3 separate regions of the Homo sapiens genome follow, and all the other regions are linked to region 2. The links are contacts of gene promoters, found by promoter capture Hi-C in blood cells and fetal thymus (Javierre and others, 2016). All regions are on one chromosome and are shown on one strand. Each heading gives the region's core, a stretch centred on a gene start or on the middle of the fragment in contact. The rest is flanking DNA. Distances are from core to core; before and after follow the strand shown. Region 1 overlaps PPFIBP2 (PPFIB scaffold protein 2). Region 2 holds the start of OLFML1 (olfactomedin like 1). Region 3 overlaps OVCH2 (ovochymase 2).

Region 1 (4,111 bases), core at 1,068-3,567, 160 kb after region 2:
TGCAGTCAATACCTCTCCCCACCCCCGCAATCCCCACACATAATCACACAAGGCCAAACATCTCTTGTTAAGGCAATTCCTAGACGTTTTATAATGTTGGTTGCTATGAGTGGGATTTTTAAATTGTTTTAACAGTAGCATTAGTATCTGTGCATTGATGGTATTAGAAAATTATTGATCTTTGTATGTAACATACGTTACATATGTTTATATGTGTATTTCGTAAGTGGCCACCTCACTGAGCTTTCTTGGGTTTTCTAAATGGGCAGTCCTGACATCTGTAAAGAATGGCTTTATTTCTGCCTAATAGCTATACTTCTTGTTCTTATTTATCTCTAATACTGGCTATGACTCTCAGACCAGTGTTGTTAGTACTGATGAAAAATATATTGTCCTTTTATTGACTTTAATGTGAATGTTCCTCCTGTTTTGTTAATAAGTAATGTGCTAGCTGTTGTTGATTGGCAAGTTTTTGCTTTTAGTTTTGGGTGTTTTGTTTTTTTTCTTTTTAATGTTAAGAGAACTGACCCTCTTAAATGCTAAGAAAAGTAGTTTTCTAAGCATTTTCCTAAAAAGATGATTCCGCCTAATGAGGCCACAGCTCTGGACTTGTGGCATGTATATGTGTGTATGCGGACCTAGGACATGTGAACATGATCTCAGGAGGGCCATACAGGCTGCCCCATTCTCTAAGTAGCCTGAGATTTGAAATTCAGATCTTGTGTTATTAAGAAAACTCTAGGGTCTACCTCCTATGAGTGTGTTGTAGTGGAATTTTGTTCAGCAGAATCCCATGATGGAGGTTGTTTGTTAAAAAACAGGTTTTTTGTTTTGTTTTTTCTTTTCTTTTCTTTTGTTTGTGAGACATGATTAGATTCAGAACCTCAGGCTCTCCCACTAACAGGAATATGCTGTTTTCCTGCTTCCCAGTGACGCCAATGCCCCCTTTGCCCAGTGGAGCACAGAGCGTGTGTGTGCATGGCTGGAGGACTTTGGCCTGGCTCAGTATGTGATCTTTGCCAGGCAGTGGGTATCTTCTGGCCACACCTTATTGACAGCCACCCCTCAGGACATGGAAAAGGTAAGGGCTCAGCTTGGGGAGAGGAGGCTCCCATTTCTCCCCAAAGCATGGGGAGGCCAGGGTCCGCCACTCCTGTCACACATACACACAGGAGGATGGATGGAGGAGGCTGAGAGTTCCTCTGTAGCTGCAGGTTGGCATCCCAGGGCACGGTGTGGAGATACACTGCCATACTCAGAGCATCTCCACCCAGACACAGCTTTCTCTGAGGGCCAAATTGCCTGCCAAAATTTCACATGTGGTCTTCATCTTTTAATTTCAGGAGCTAGGAATTAAGCACCCACTCCACAGGAAGAAGCTTGTTTTAGCAGTGAAAGCCATCAACACCAAACAGGAGGAGAAGTCTGCACTGCTAGACCACATTTGGGTGACAAGTAAGGATAGGCATATATGTATTAAGAATGTCTCTGGCAGCAACTAAGAGTAGAAAGAATTTTCCTGTTAAATGGGTACCTCAAGGACAGCTGTCTCCTTGTAAAAAGCAGAGGAATTACTAAACTTTTGGGGGAATAAAACGAACCTCAAAATATAATTTGCTCCCCTTTTTTTGGTGTCTACATTCTCTCATTCTCATGAATCCTGACACATCTGGGGTTTTTGTATTTGTAGGGTGGCTTGATGATATTGGCTTACCCCAGTACAAAGACCAGTTTCATGAATCTAGAGTTGACAGACGAATGCTGCAATACCTAACTGTGGTGAGGACTTTTTCTTTAAATATTTCAGTTGTCCCTGTGAGCACTCAGCTCACGTGTACCCATGGTGGTTATTTTAAACTTGATTCCATATATTCTTAAGGCCTTGAAATAGTATCATTTGTCACAAAAGAGGTCCCAAGTAGCAGAGTACAAACCACTGTGATAAGCTATTGGTGTCTCCACGTGCACCTTCCTGAGATGTGGTTGACTTGTCTATGCTTGGTCTGGTGAGGGACATCAGGGGTCTTTTGTCACTTTGGAAACTCTGGTTTATAAACCAAACTTTCCTCTTTCAGAACGATTTACTCTTCTTAAAAGTCACCAGCCAACTACATCATCTCAGCATCAAATGTGCCATTCACGTGCTGCATGTCAACAAGTTCAACCCCCACTGCCTGCACCGGCGGCCAGCTGATGAGGTGAGACCACAAATAGTATCTCTCCAGGTAGCCCTGAGCCAGGACCCCTGAAACATCGAGCATGAGCAAACAAGAATGACATCATAAAAGCACTGTTTTTTGCACCATGGTGCCTGGGATTCTTTTGTTTGCTTGTGCTTCCTGTTGCCCCAAACATCCGTTACCTGCACTTTGTGTCTCACAGTAGCCATAGACCTCTAAGCTCCCACCCTCCACTGGGGAGACACATGCTATAAAGTCATCATAGTGATTAAAGGAGATGAGGAGATGGTGCAAAGGAGAGGGGGAGGGAAAGACAAAATGGAAAGATGGGTGTCACAGTAGAAGAGAAGAGAAGAGACAGAGGAGGGGGAAGAGGAGCCCGTAGAAGCTAGACATTTCAGAATAGGTATCCCTACTTGTAGATCCAAAATTAACTGACTTCCAGGCCCAGGTACAGGGGATCCATGAGTAGTCTTGCTAGAGAAGAAATAGTATACGTAAATAACAGCACCCCAAGTCTTGAAGAAATAACTGATTATGTTCCATGAACTTCGGAGTTCTTGGTGGACCCCCAAACTGAAGATTGTCAGTCACATCCTATCTCCTCTGTTCCTGGGAACTAGGTCTAACCTTGCTGTAAAATTAACTCAGCTTCCTGGGCTGCTACCTTTGCTGTCTATCTCCTATTTTCTCCTTATTCAACCAACATGTTTTGAATGTCTTGTATATGTCAGGCACAGCGCTGTGCATTTTTAAGACCACAGTGCTACGTGAGAGCACTTAGGAATAAGTACCTTAAGGTGTGCTCCCCTAAAATCATTGGCCACACCAGGGAGATCTTTCATCTATAAACCACTTGGATTGTAAAATTGACAGTCATCTTTAAAGTTCTGTTGAATCACTGAAAGAATAACTATAATGTCCTCATTTATTTGTCTCAAAGTTAGCTGGAAAATGATGGAGTAACAGAATTCTGGATTCAGATATCTCAGTGTGGAAGATCTTCAAAGATTCAGTGGGAGCTCTATTTCCTAGAAACTGGGGAGGCTGGTGCTCTGGCAGATGGGGTGGGTCACTAAGCTTGAGGGCCTTCTATTGTTGTGATGCGTCTGGGGCAGGGTTACTTACCGGGGCTGACTCCACAGAGGACCATGGTGGGACCTATTAAGCCTAACTTCCTCACTCTCCTTCTCCCTCTGACAGAGTAACCTTTCTCCTTCAGAAGTTGTACAGTGGTCCAACCACAGGGTGATGGAGTGGTTACGATCTGTGGACCTGGCAGAGTATGCACCCAATCTTCGAGGGAGTGGAGTCCATGGAGGCCTCATTGTGAGTGGCTCTCTGGCCTAGCCCACCTGCCTTGGTGCAAATGGGATATTCAGAAACTTATTTATTAAGGACAAGGCACAAAAGCTAACGAAAAAAAATAGGTACTTCATCTGGAGGTCTTGCATAATTTGATGTCTCAAAGTATTTTGATAACTTGTCCTTGAGAATTAATATACCTCATGGAAGCAAGATGCCTTCTGGCAGCACCTCCTTGGCATGAGACTTGAGGATTCTAGGTCGATGGGTTGCATGGAGACCAACGCTTACAAGGCGAGGGAACAGCAGGGCTGAGGAAGGGACGGGGAAGCCGTAAAAATGCAGCTTCCCACTTGCTGCAATAGGATCCCTATCACTACTCAGATCTGTCAGTGGCAAAGCCAGAGGGGAAATGAGGAAGTGTGGTGGCTTGGATGTCATCCAGAGAAGATCCTGAGAGACAGCCTCACCAAAGAGGTCCCAGTTCTCTGCTGGTCTGTGAAAACAAGGTGGTCAGTCAGCACATGTGCTAGTATGTGCTCAGAGCCAGGCCCTGTGCCAGCCAGTGAGTGGAGTGGGACTCAGAACAAGTGACTGAGCTCCTGTCCCTCCTCTGGAGGCACCCC
Region 2 (4,343 bases), core at 782-3,281:
AGTAATAGCAACGGTCAAGGCCAGAGGTTACGTGTAATGAAGACAGTGGAGCTAACTGATTTCGTCCAGCTGCAGGTCTAGGTGCGGCAGGCCATCTTTTTCACCCTTATCCACCCGGCACCCACTGAGGAGGGACTGTTCTAATAAAGATGGCTTCAGTAGGCCACTGCGAGTCAAGGCTGGGTCTGTCTCCAAAGTGAGTTTGGTTTTTCTTTATGAAACCTCTGGTCACGAGAATATGAGAGTTTCCACTCTGGTTCTGAACTATGGGTCATCAATCCTAATGGGTTATGGGTTCCAGCTGTGAGATTTGCTGTCCCTGTTTGGGATTACAAAAAGTAAATGAAGCTCTCCAGTTAAGACCAGGTGTGGGCAGTCAGAGCTGAGAGGCCAGGAGTGTCCCTCTGAAGAAGGTGGTGACCGCAGAGAAAGTGGTGCTGGGCCTGAATCACTGGTGGGCAGAGATGGTGCCTGCCAGTCCTGAGCCAACCTCTTTGGAGCCCACTCCACAGAGATAAGAGCAACAGCAGCCCTGAAAGCACCTCAAGGACTTCTGCTGCAACCGAGGCTTCCCACTGCATTTCCCCCTTACAGACTCTCCAGTAATTCTTTAGACTCTGTAAGTATGGCATGTGTATTTCATTGAAAAAGTAATGTAAGCATGCTCTAGAAAACCCAGGAAAGAACTACCCACACCACCACCACCGAAAAGTTAATTAGATACAATCAGAGTTTTCCTCCACTGGACCTTATCCATCTTAGTTCACAGTCTCAGAGTTAGGACTTGAGGCATTTGTGGAAGTAAATCAACTAGAGCACCCTTAAGACTTTATTCAAAAATGCTAGGCATGAGTAATTTCAGAGAGAATATTCTCACTTGGAGAAGCAGCGTGAGCCAGACAGAATTTTTAATAAGGATTTAGGAGGCAGGGTCAGCTGAAGTTCAACTGGTTTAGGGAATAGTGCAAAGATGGTTCTAAGAAATATGAGGAATTGTTTCTAAGGATGATGAACTACTGTTTGGGATTTTTACCGAGAGGGTGAGGAGGAATAGTTAGGAGCTGTGGCCATATGGAAGAAGGGTGGGGAGAAATATTACCGGGCATAAGGAAGTTTAAGGACCACCAGTGGAAAATTCTCAGTCTATGTGTCTCTTTTAAAAAAATTTTGTGGATACATAGTAGGTGTTTATGGGGTACGTGAAATGTTTTGATAAAGGTATCTATTAGCGTCTCTTGTGAGGACCAAATGGAAACACAGGCCTTCTGACTCCTGGAGAGCATTCTTTTCACATTCCATAGATGCCCCAGCCTTTCTCAGTTTGGCAGGTGATTGAGAAAGAACCCCAAGGCGTCCTGGCCTTTCCCATGGAAAGGCAGGTTGAGATAAGAAGAGGGCTGGACTGCACAGACAAATTCAAAGATTTTACCACCTTGTCCTAGGGTTATAATTTATCTTCAATTGGACCAGGGCCTGCAGGAGTTTAGTCCTACATATTTCTGGCCTGCAGCTACATGAAGGGAATTCTGCCTCCAGTGATTGAGAAAACTCAAGGATTTCCTTACAAAGGCGTTTCACTTTTTGATGGCTTGACCCTGGAAGCATCACTGTATCAATGATTGTTGTTGTTCCTCTTAATCAAATTATTCTCAGCTCCATCCTGAGATGTTTCAGCTGACAGCCTGGATGGCCAGGCCTGTAGCCCATTGTACCTTTCTGCCCAAGGGGCGATGTAGCCCTGTGCACTGGCTGTTCAGAGATAGTGGTAGATCCATGTTTATTTTTCCTGGCTGTGCCTTTAAGAGCTGCAGGAATGTGAAGGGAGTCTGGATGAGGGGTGGGGTCTCCCAATAGGACTTCTGGAAAAGGATCCTGGGAATTTTTGCCAGAAACTAAACTGAGAGTCCAACTTTAAAAAGTTGGGGGTGGTTTGTGTTGGGGAAGGCCTGCGATTGGACTGCAGAATCCACTAGGGAGGAGGAAAGCAAAAGTAAAAAGGAAATAGCTGGGGGAAGGGAACGGGGGGAAGCCATCTTCACCCCCCACCCCAATGCACACACAATTAAGCCAGGAAGCAGCTTGCAACCACTAGCCTGGGGAGGGTCCGCATGTGTCAAGGGTGAGGGCAACAGATGCTGGACCCAGGGAGCTCTCTGCCACAGGTCAGTCTACAAGGCCTCAGGGACCAACTTGCCAACAGCTGGACTTGATCACTAGCTGGCAAACTGAGCTCACGTATCGGGTGGAATAACAAGCGGACTTTGCTCTCTGCTGTGCAAAACGCTGTTTTTAGAGGATTTGCCACAGCAGCGGATAGAGCAGGAGAGCACCACCGGAGCCCTTGAGACATCCTTGAGAAGAGCCACAGCATAAGAGACTGCCCTGCTTGGTGTTTTGCAGGATGATGGTGGCCCTTCGAGGAGCTTCTGCATTGCTGGTTCTGTTCCTTGCAGCTTTTCTGCCCCCGCCGCAGTGTACCCAGGACCCAGCCATGGTGCATTACATCTACCAGCGCTTTCGAGTCTTGGAGGTAGGTGGCATCTGTACACCTTGGATAAGTAACAGGCTTCCCAGAAGTACCTTATTTTTACCCATGCTTCTCTATCTACTGGGTTGTATTTTTCCCAGATAGCAAATGACACATTGCCAAAGTTACACTTTAAAATGCTCATAGTCTGGCAGTTTAGAGCCGAACTCCAGAGTCCAGTGTGCTACTTCCAGACCTTAAGCACAGTTGCACTTTGTGCTCTGATTTGGCAGTTTGTCTCATCTGTAAAATGGGGATAATAGTAGAATTTATGTTGTAAGGCTATCCTGAAGATTTAATCCATAGCTAAAATACTGCCTGGCATAATGGTATGTATCTAAAATGTTATTATTCACCATAGTTCATTTTTTAAAATATGAAACTTAAAAATGTTGGTTACTTTTTCTTCATGTTTTAGTGTTTCAGGCTGATAATGGATTTCAGCTTTTCGTTTTGTCTTTTATGATAAACCATTAGGTCACTGTAAAAAGTCATGATATCAATGTACTGAGAAGTCTTAGTTTCTTTTGCTGAACTGGATTTAGACTTAGAAGTGAGCAGATTTCAGCCAAGTTAAACAGAAAGAATGCATTTGGGCTGCCACCTCATTAAAATGTGCAAAACCCAACATTTTGGCAGCCTGGACAGGCTCCCAGGGACAAATGTAACCCTCCACCCTAGCCTTTGCCACACCCTGGCATTGATTATTCATACTTAATGGCTTGCTTTTGTACAAGCTAAATTGATAAATTATTTATCTTCTTTCAAAGACCCTCTTATTGCTAATAATTATTTTATACATTTTCCTGAAAAATCTTCATGTCCAAATTATATGTTCTTCTAGTTATAGTCAGGGTAAAGTAATTCCACATAGCAGGCCGAATGCATTTCCTAAGGGCGTCCAGCCAACAGGCTGGGGCCTGGAGGCAGTGGATGAAGTGTTCCCAGACGAGCGGCCTCTTGCGCTTCTTCACTTGCTCCCTCCTGAGCCTCACCTCCTTAGAAGTGCCAGAATGATGCTCAGTCAGGATCCCTCTGCATTTAGCACCGACTTGCCTTGGGAGTAAAGCCAGCCAAATCCCTGCAAATTGTCTTTCACTACCTTAAGAACTTGTCAAGGGTATGAAGTACAGACTGATCCTTTTATAGCTATGAATGTGGATTTGAAAAAGACAAGGATATGATCTGTATAGATCTTCCCACCCCAGTCCTGACCTGAGGTGAAGCCAAGTCGCAGGTGGCAGTCACTGTTGGCCAGCGCAGACACTTAACAATACAGTGATAGCATTCCCAGCCTGAGAAGCCAGTGTCGGAGGGGTAGGAAAAAAGAGGGTAGGGATTTAGGGAATTATTTTGGGTCTCTCTTTCTGTCTTTCTCCCTTCAAAATAAACAGCCTTACGTATTGTTGTTTGGAGCATACATTTTTACATTTGTGGATAGAATTTTGATAAACCATGCCAAATGAGCTTTAAGTAGACATTCTCTTTGACCAAGCAATCCCATTTCCATTCATTTATTCTTTTGTTCAGCAAATATTTATTGAATAGTATTATGTGCTTGGCCCTGTGCCAAGTGCTAGGGACGGATATTCTGGAAATCTACCTTAAAATAATCTGATGAAGATGTAAATACAAAGGTTTTTTTTTCCCTTAATAATCTGATGAAGATGTAAATAAAAAGTTTTTTTCTCAGCATTGTTTGAATGACAAAAAATTAAAAACTATGTAAATGTACCTCAAAAAGAGTCTAACAGAATAAATAATGGGATATCAATTAAATGGAATGCTCTCATTAAAGTTATGGTATAGGTATACT
Region 3 (4,307 bases), core at 1,709-4,208, 210 kb after region 2:
TAGTAGTATACTTGCTATTTTTCAGAGGTGGGATCTTGTGAATGAGACCACAATTTGGCACAGAAAGTAGTCATTGCCACTGAATTATTCACTCGAGATGAGAATTTATTCTGGTGACTGGAAATATTCCAGTGTTGCTTTGAGCAAAAGGAACAGTGACCACATCCCATGAAGCTCCATGTGATGGCTTTTTTGATATGTCAGCTTAGCTAGGTGACAATCCACAGTTATTAAATCAGACACTAATCTAATTGTTGCTGTAAAGAAATTTTGCAGCAGTAATTAAAATTCCTAATCATTTGACTCTAGGTAAAGAAGATCATCTTGAATAATCTGGGTGAACCTGACTTGATTAGTTTGAAGGCCCTTAAAAGCAGGGCTGAGGCTTCCCCAAAAGAGAGAAGAAATTCTGCCTGTGAGGAACAACTTCAGCCCATGCTGTGGATTCCGGTGTTTCTATGATTTTCCCTTTCTGAGCACCTGGCCTGTAGATTTACCTGCTTAGTCAGCCCCCACAATTGTGTAAGCCAATTCTGGTGTATCCGTTTGCTAGGGTTGCCATGACAAAGTACCACAAACTAGGTGGCTTAGAACAACAGAAATTTATTGTCTCATAGTTCTGGAGGCTAGAAGTCCAAGATCAACGTGTCAGCAGGGATGGCTCTGTCTGAGGGCTGTGACGAGGAGTCTGCCCCAAGCCTCTCCTCTAGCTTCTGGTGGTTTACTGACAGTCACTGGTGCCCCTTGGCCTGTAGATAATGTATTGCCCCAACCTCTGCCTTCATCATTACACGATATTCTCCCTGTGTGTGTATGTCTCTCTGCTTCCAATTTTCTCCTTTTAATAAGGACACTAGTCATACTGGATTAGGGCCCAGGCTAATAACCTCATTTTAACTGATTAACTCTGTAACAACCCTATCTCTAAATAAGGTCACATTCTGGGGTACTGGAGGTTAGGACTCTAGTATATTTTGGAGGAAGATGGAATTAAATCCATATCACCTGCTTCTCCGGTTGAACCCTGGATTATACTCTGTGTGTATCAATTGGTCCCCAAAACAGCTTACCAGAAACATTGGTTTCTCCATTTGGCACATCTCATGTCTCCAGAAACATTGATTCATCCTCTGATATGGAGATGTTTAAATCTGGGTATACTGGGTATAAGTATGATACAATTACTCAGTTTCCACAAAGACAGCCAGGGTTGGAGATTTATCAGAAAATGATTTATGAAGCTATTGTTAGAATTCTGGGGCACCTCAGCCAGCTAGACTCTATAGGTATTTCAAATGAGGAGTGGGGCATTTTAACTATAACCTGGCTTTGCCATCTGCAGCTGCTTAATACCTAAAAAGAATGAACAACTTGGAAAGCAGATAATTGGCTTTGTGGGGTTTGGAAAGAAGAATCATGGGTATGAGAATGTGTAAGGAAGCTGGTTAGGTAGTTCGAATGTCCAGGGCCTGGAACTGGTGAAGATATTTCATGTTTCTATGTCTCTGTTATGTACTGCACACTTGCTTGTGGCCAAGTGTATCTTATCTGATTTAATCCTCACTACATTCTTATTAGGGATGCATTGTTTTCCCTTAGTAGGGTTGAAAAAAATGAGTCTGAGGTGACTCTTAAGATTACACATCTAGTAATGATTGGCCATCAGGATTCAGACATACAGTCACTCGTTCTTTGTGAACTCCCTATACGTGAATTCACCTACTCACTAAAAATTATTTATAGCTCCAAAAGTGATACTCATGTTGTCCTCAGGATCATTCATAGGCATGTGAAGAGTGACAAAAAATACATGTTGTTAGACACACGTTTCCACACGAGGTAAAACAAGGCAATATTTTGCCTTCTTGCTTCAGCCGTCATCCTATAAACAAATGTCCTTTTCATGGTCTATTTAGTGGCACTTTTTTTTCATTTCTGTTCTTTTTATTGGTGACCTCAACCTTTAAAATGGCCCCAAGCATAGTGCTGAAGTGCCGTCTAGTGTTCCTAAGTGCAAAACTCTGTGGTGTGCCTCACATAGAAAACACACGTGTTAGATAAGCTTTGTTCAGACATGAGTCATAGTGCTGTTGGCCATGAATTTAATGGCCGTGAATTCATTGTAATGAACCAGCAATATATATTAAATAACATATCTTTAAACAGAAACACACATAAAACAAGTTTATGTACTGATCAGCTGATGAAAATGTACCTTGAAGGCACCTAACCTTGTACATTTCCTAGGAGGGATGGCTGAGTATTCTCTTATTCAGTGTCCATGGTGACTTGATAGGATGTAATTACTGCAGATAGTGAGAATCGACTGTCTCTGTGTTGGGCTCTAAAGACCTCTAATTCACATCACAAGGATTAGAACTGGGAACCAAAGAGTTGGTAACTCTATCTTCTTACCTGCTTTAGGAATGAAGGAGACTGTAGCCTGAAAGCCCCTGCAGGTCCCGTTTTCATCTGATTGGAAGCTGATGAGCATGATGCTGGAGGGGCTCAGCACAGGGGTGGGGACATCATAGCCACACAGCCGAGCTTGTTGAAGGCCAGCCCAGGCATGACATTGTCAAGCACCCAGCAGATAGCCATGGCATTGGAGAGAAGAAAAAAAGAAAATCATCCTTCAGGTAATTGTTGAGAAATACGCTTTTCACAATTCATTTTCTAAATAAAGGCAGCTCACTCCTTAATTAACCCCATGACATTTCAATTTGGTTTTCTCTCCTGAACACTCCCACACACAATGATGTTAAGGGAACTGGTTCTAGCCTCAGGACTTGTTTCAATGGAACTTTCCCTTTCTGACTCCTAGTTTCCTCATGGGCCTTTTGCATTTCTGTTTCAGTGGTTCTTTGATTCTCCCTTTTTCTCTTCCTGCCCCTAATGAAGAAGACAAAGGAGTGATGGTGAGACCACAGGGAGGGGTGGAGGTGGTGCAGGAAGATGGAGGAAGATTGATCTGTCTCCTTTTCGTTCCCATCTCAAGACTGGGTCCAAACACAAACCAGAGCGAGCTGAGGCTCAGAGGACACAAACCTATTTCCTTCTTCCTTTCTACATCGCTGTGCACTGTCACATAGTCGGAAGTGCAGTCTCCACTTTCTTCTATTTCCAGACTCTGAAATGAAAGCTGAGAAGACACGAAGTTACATCCAGAGTAAACAATCTGAATGAATTACCTGACTTTGATTCAGCAGAGAAATTTGGATTGCTCAACTTGTTCTGGAGTAAGACCTTAGATAAGAAAGTTAATGGGGTATTCAGGAGTGGGTCAGATTACCAAGGGAAGGATTCTATATCACAGGCTCTAACTTTTTGAAATAGCTACCAAATATGGCCTGAATCAAAGGGCAGGAAACTGTGCAAATATTTTAGCTTCCTAACATCTCTAAGAGATTAGGAGAGCTACCGCATGGGGATTTTTTTCCTTGGAAGCAACTAGGCACTCAACTCAACTAATTGCATATACACAAAACTGCTTCTCTGGACATCTTAGTGTTGTTCACCTGGTTCCTGATGTTTCATCTTGAACCTCTAGTTCTCCTGAATCAAGACTGAAATTTGTTGTGCCCCTTGGAGACCGTGTCTTTCTACCCAGCGGGATATAGCTGGCTCCTCTTCTCACCTGCTTTGTCCTGTTGCCACTATATTTCCATGCCTCACTGCAAAATTCTGAGAAGGCACAGATGTAAGTGAGTCTAATTGCTGATATAAAACAAAGTATCATCTGAGCTACTGAAAGCATTTGCATAAGTGGGCTCGGAGTCAAATGTAGTGAGCCTCATGAATGTGCATGAAAAAGGAAATCCTTGTATGAGTTAGAGAGAGCTGATTTTGGATACTAAGCTTAAATGTAAACCTCAGCAAAATTCTTGAGTAGATTATTAAGCTATGATGAGTAATGACCTAGAAAAGAAAGTTGATCACCTGGAATCAACCTAGGGTCACCAAGAATAAATCATGACAAACCTTTTCTCATAGTTTCTATAATTGTGATGCTTATTGGCAGCATAATATTTCATTTATCTCTATCCTTGAGACCTGTATTTTTTGCTATCTTAAAAACTTGGCAGTGAATATCTTTAGGCATTTACTTTTTTTCTTCTCTTGTATCATTCCCTGCATGGGGCACTTGTTTTGTTTCAGGAAAAGGGAGGGGAACTATCTAGATAGAAGGAACAGTGTGAAGGAGAAACAAAGAAACAATAAAGAGTGATCTTGGAGCAGTTTGGTGAGCACTAGCCAATTGAATTTGAAGTGAAGAGTGGTGGGAGAGAGGGCTGATGAAATAGGAA

What was found. Contacts are between HindIII fragments. The CHiCAGO score rates a contact against its expected background, and 5 or more counts as called.
Region 1: a contact is called between a fragment that was not itself captured here and the fragment with the promoter of OLFML1 in region 2, in 2 of 17 cell types (monocytes and naive CD4 T cells). The highest score is 5.9, in monocytes.
Region 3: a contact is called between a fragment that was not itself captured here and the fragment with the promoter of OLFML1 in region 2, in 4 of 17 cell types (monocytes, non-activated CD4 T cells, naive CD8 T cells and 1 more). The highest score is 6.0, in monocytes.

What each region holds. Positions count from the first base shown.
Region 1 is chr11:7,647,457-7,651,567 of GRCh38, forward strand. PPFIBP2 (PPFIB scaffold protein 2) reads left to right here. Exons shown (of 24, transcript NM_003621.5): 18 at 931-1,081; 19 at 1,344-1,455; 20 at 1,691-1,779; 21 at 2,076-2,198; 22 at 3,384-3,509. Among named protein-coding and RNA genes, the nearest start is that of CYB5R2, 24 kb to the right of the region's middle. RefSeq lists an enhancer at 3,417-4,111. The HindIII fragment of the contact is 1,881 bases long and covers 1,378-3,258 here.
Region 2 is chr11:7,483,475-7,487,817 of GRCh38, forward strand. OLFML1 (olfactomedin like 1) reads left to right here and starts at 2,032. Exons shown (of 3, transcript NM_198474.4): 1 at 2,032-2,530. The coding sequence starts at 2,402. RefSeq lists an enhancer at 1,709-2,213. The HindIII fragment of the contact is 6,703 bases long and covers 1-4,343 here.
Region 3 is chr11:7,688,854-7,693,160 of GRCh38, forward strand. OVCH2 (ovochymase 2) reads right to left here. Exons shown (of 16, transcript NM_198185.7): 13 at 3,049-3,142; 14 at 2,416-2,547; 15 at 1,071-1,160; 16 at 584-749. The coding sequence ends at 1,102. It overlaps LOC105376533 (a long non-coding RNA gene), which reads left to right. Exons shown (of 11, transcript XR_007062576.1): 3 at 2,425-2,639; 4 at 3,128-3,700. Among named protein-coding and RNA genes, the nearest start is that of OVCH2, 15 kb to the right of the region's middle. RefSeq lists an enhancer at 2,161-3,360. The HindIII fragment of the contact is 1,796 bases long and covers 2,061-3,856 here.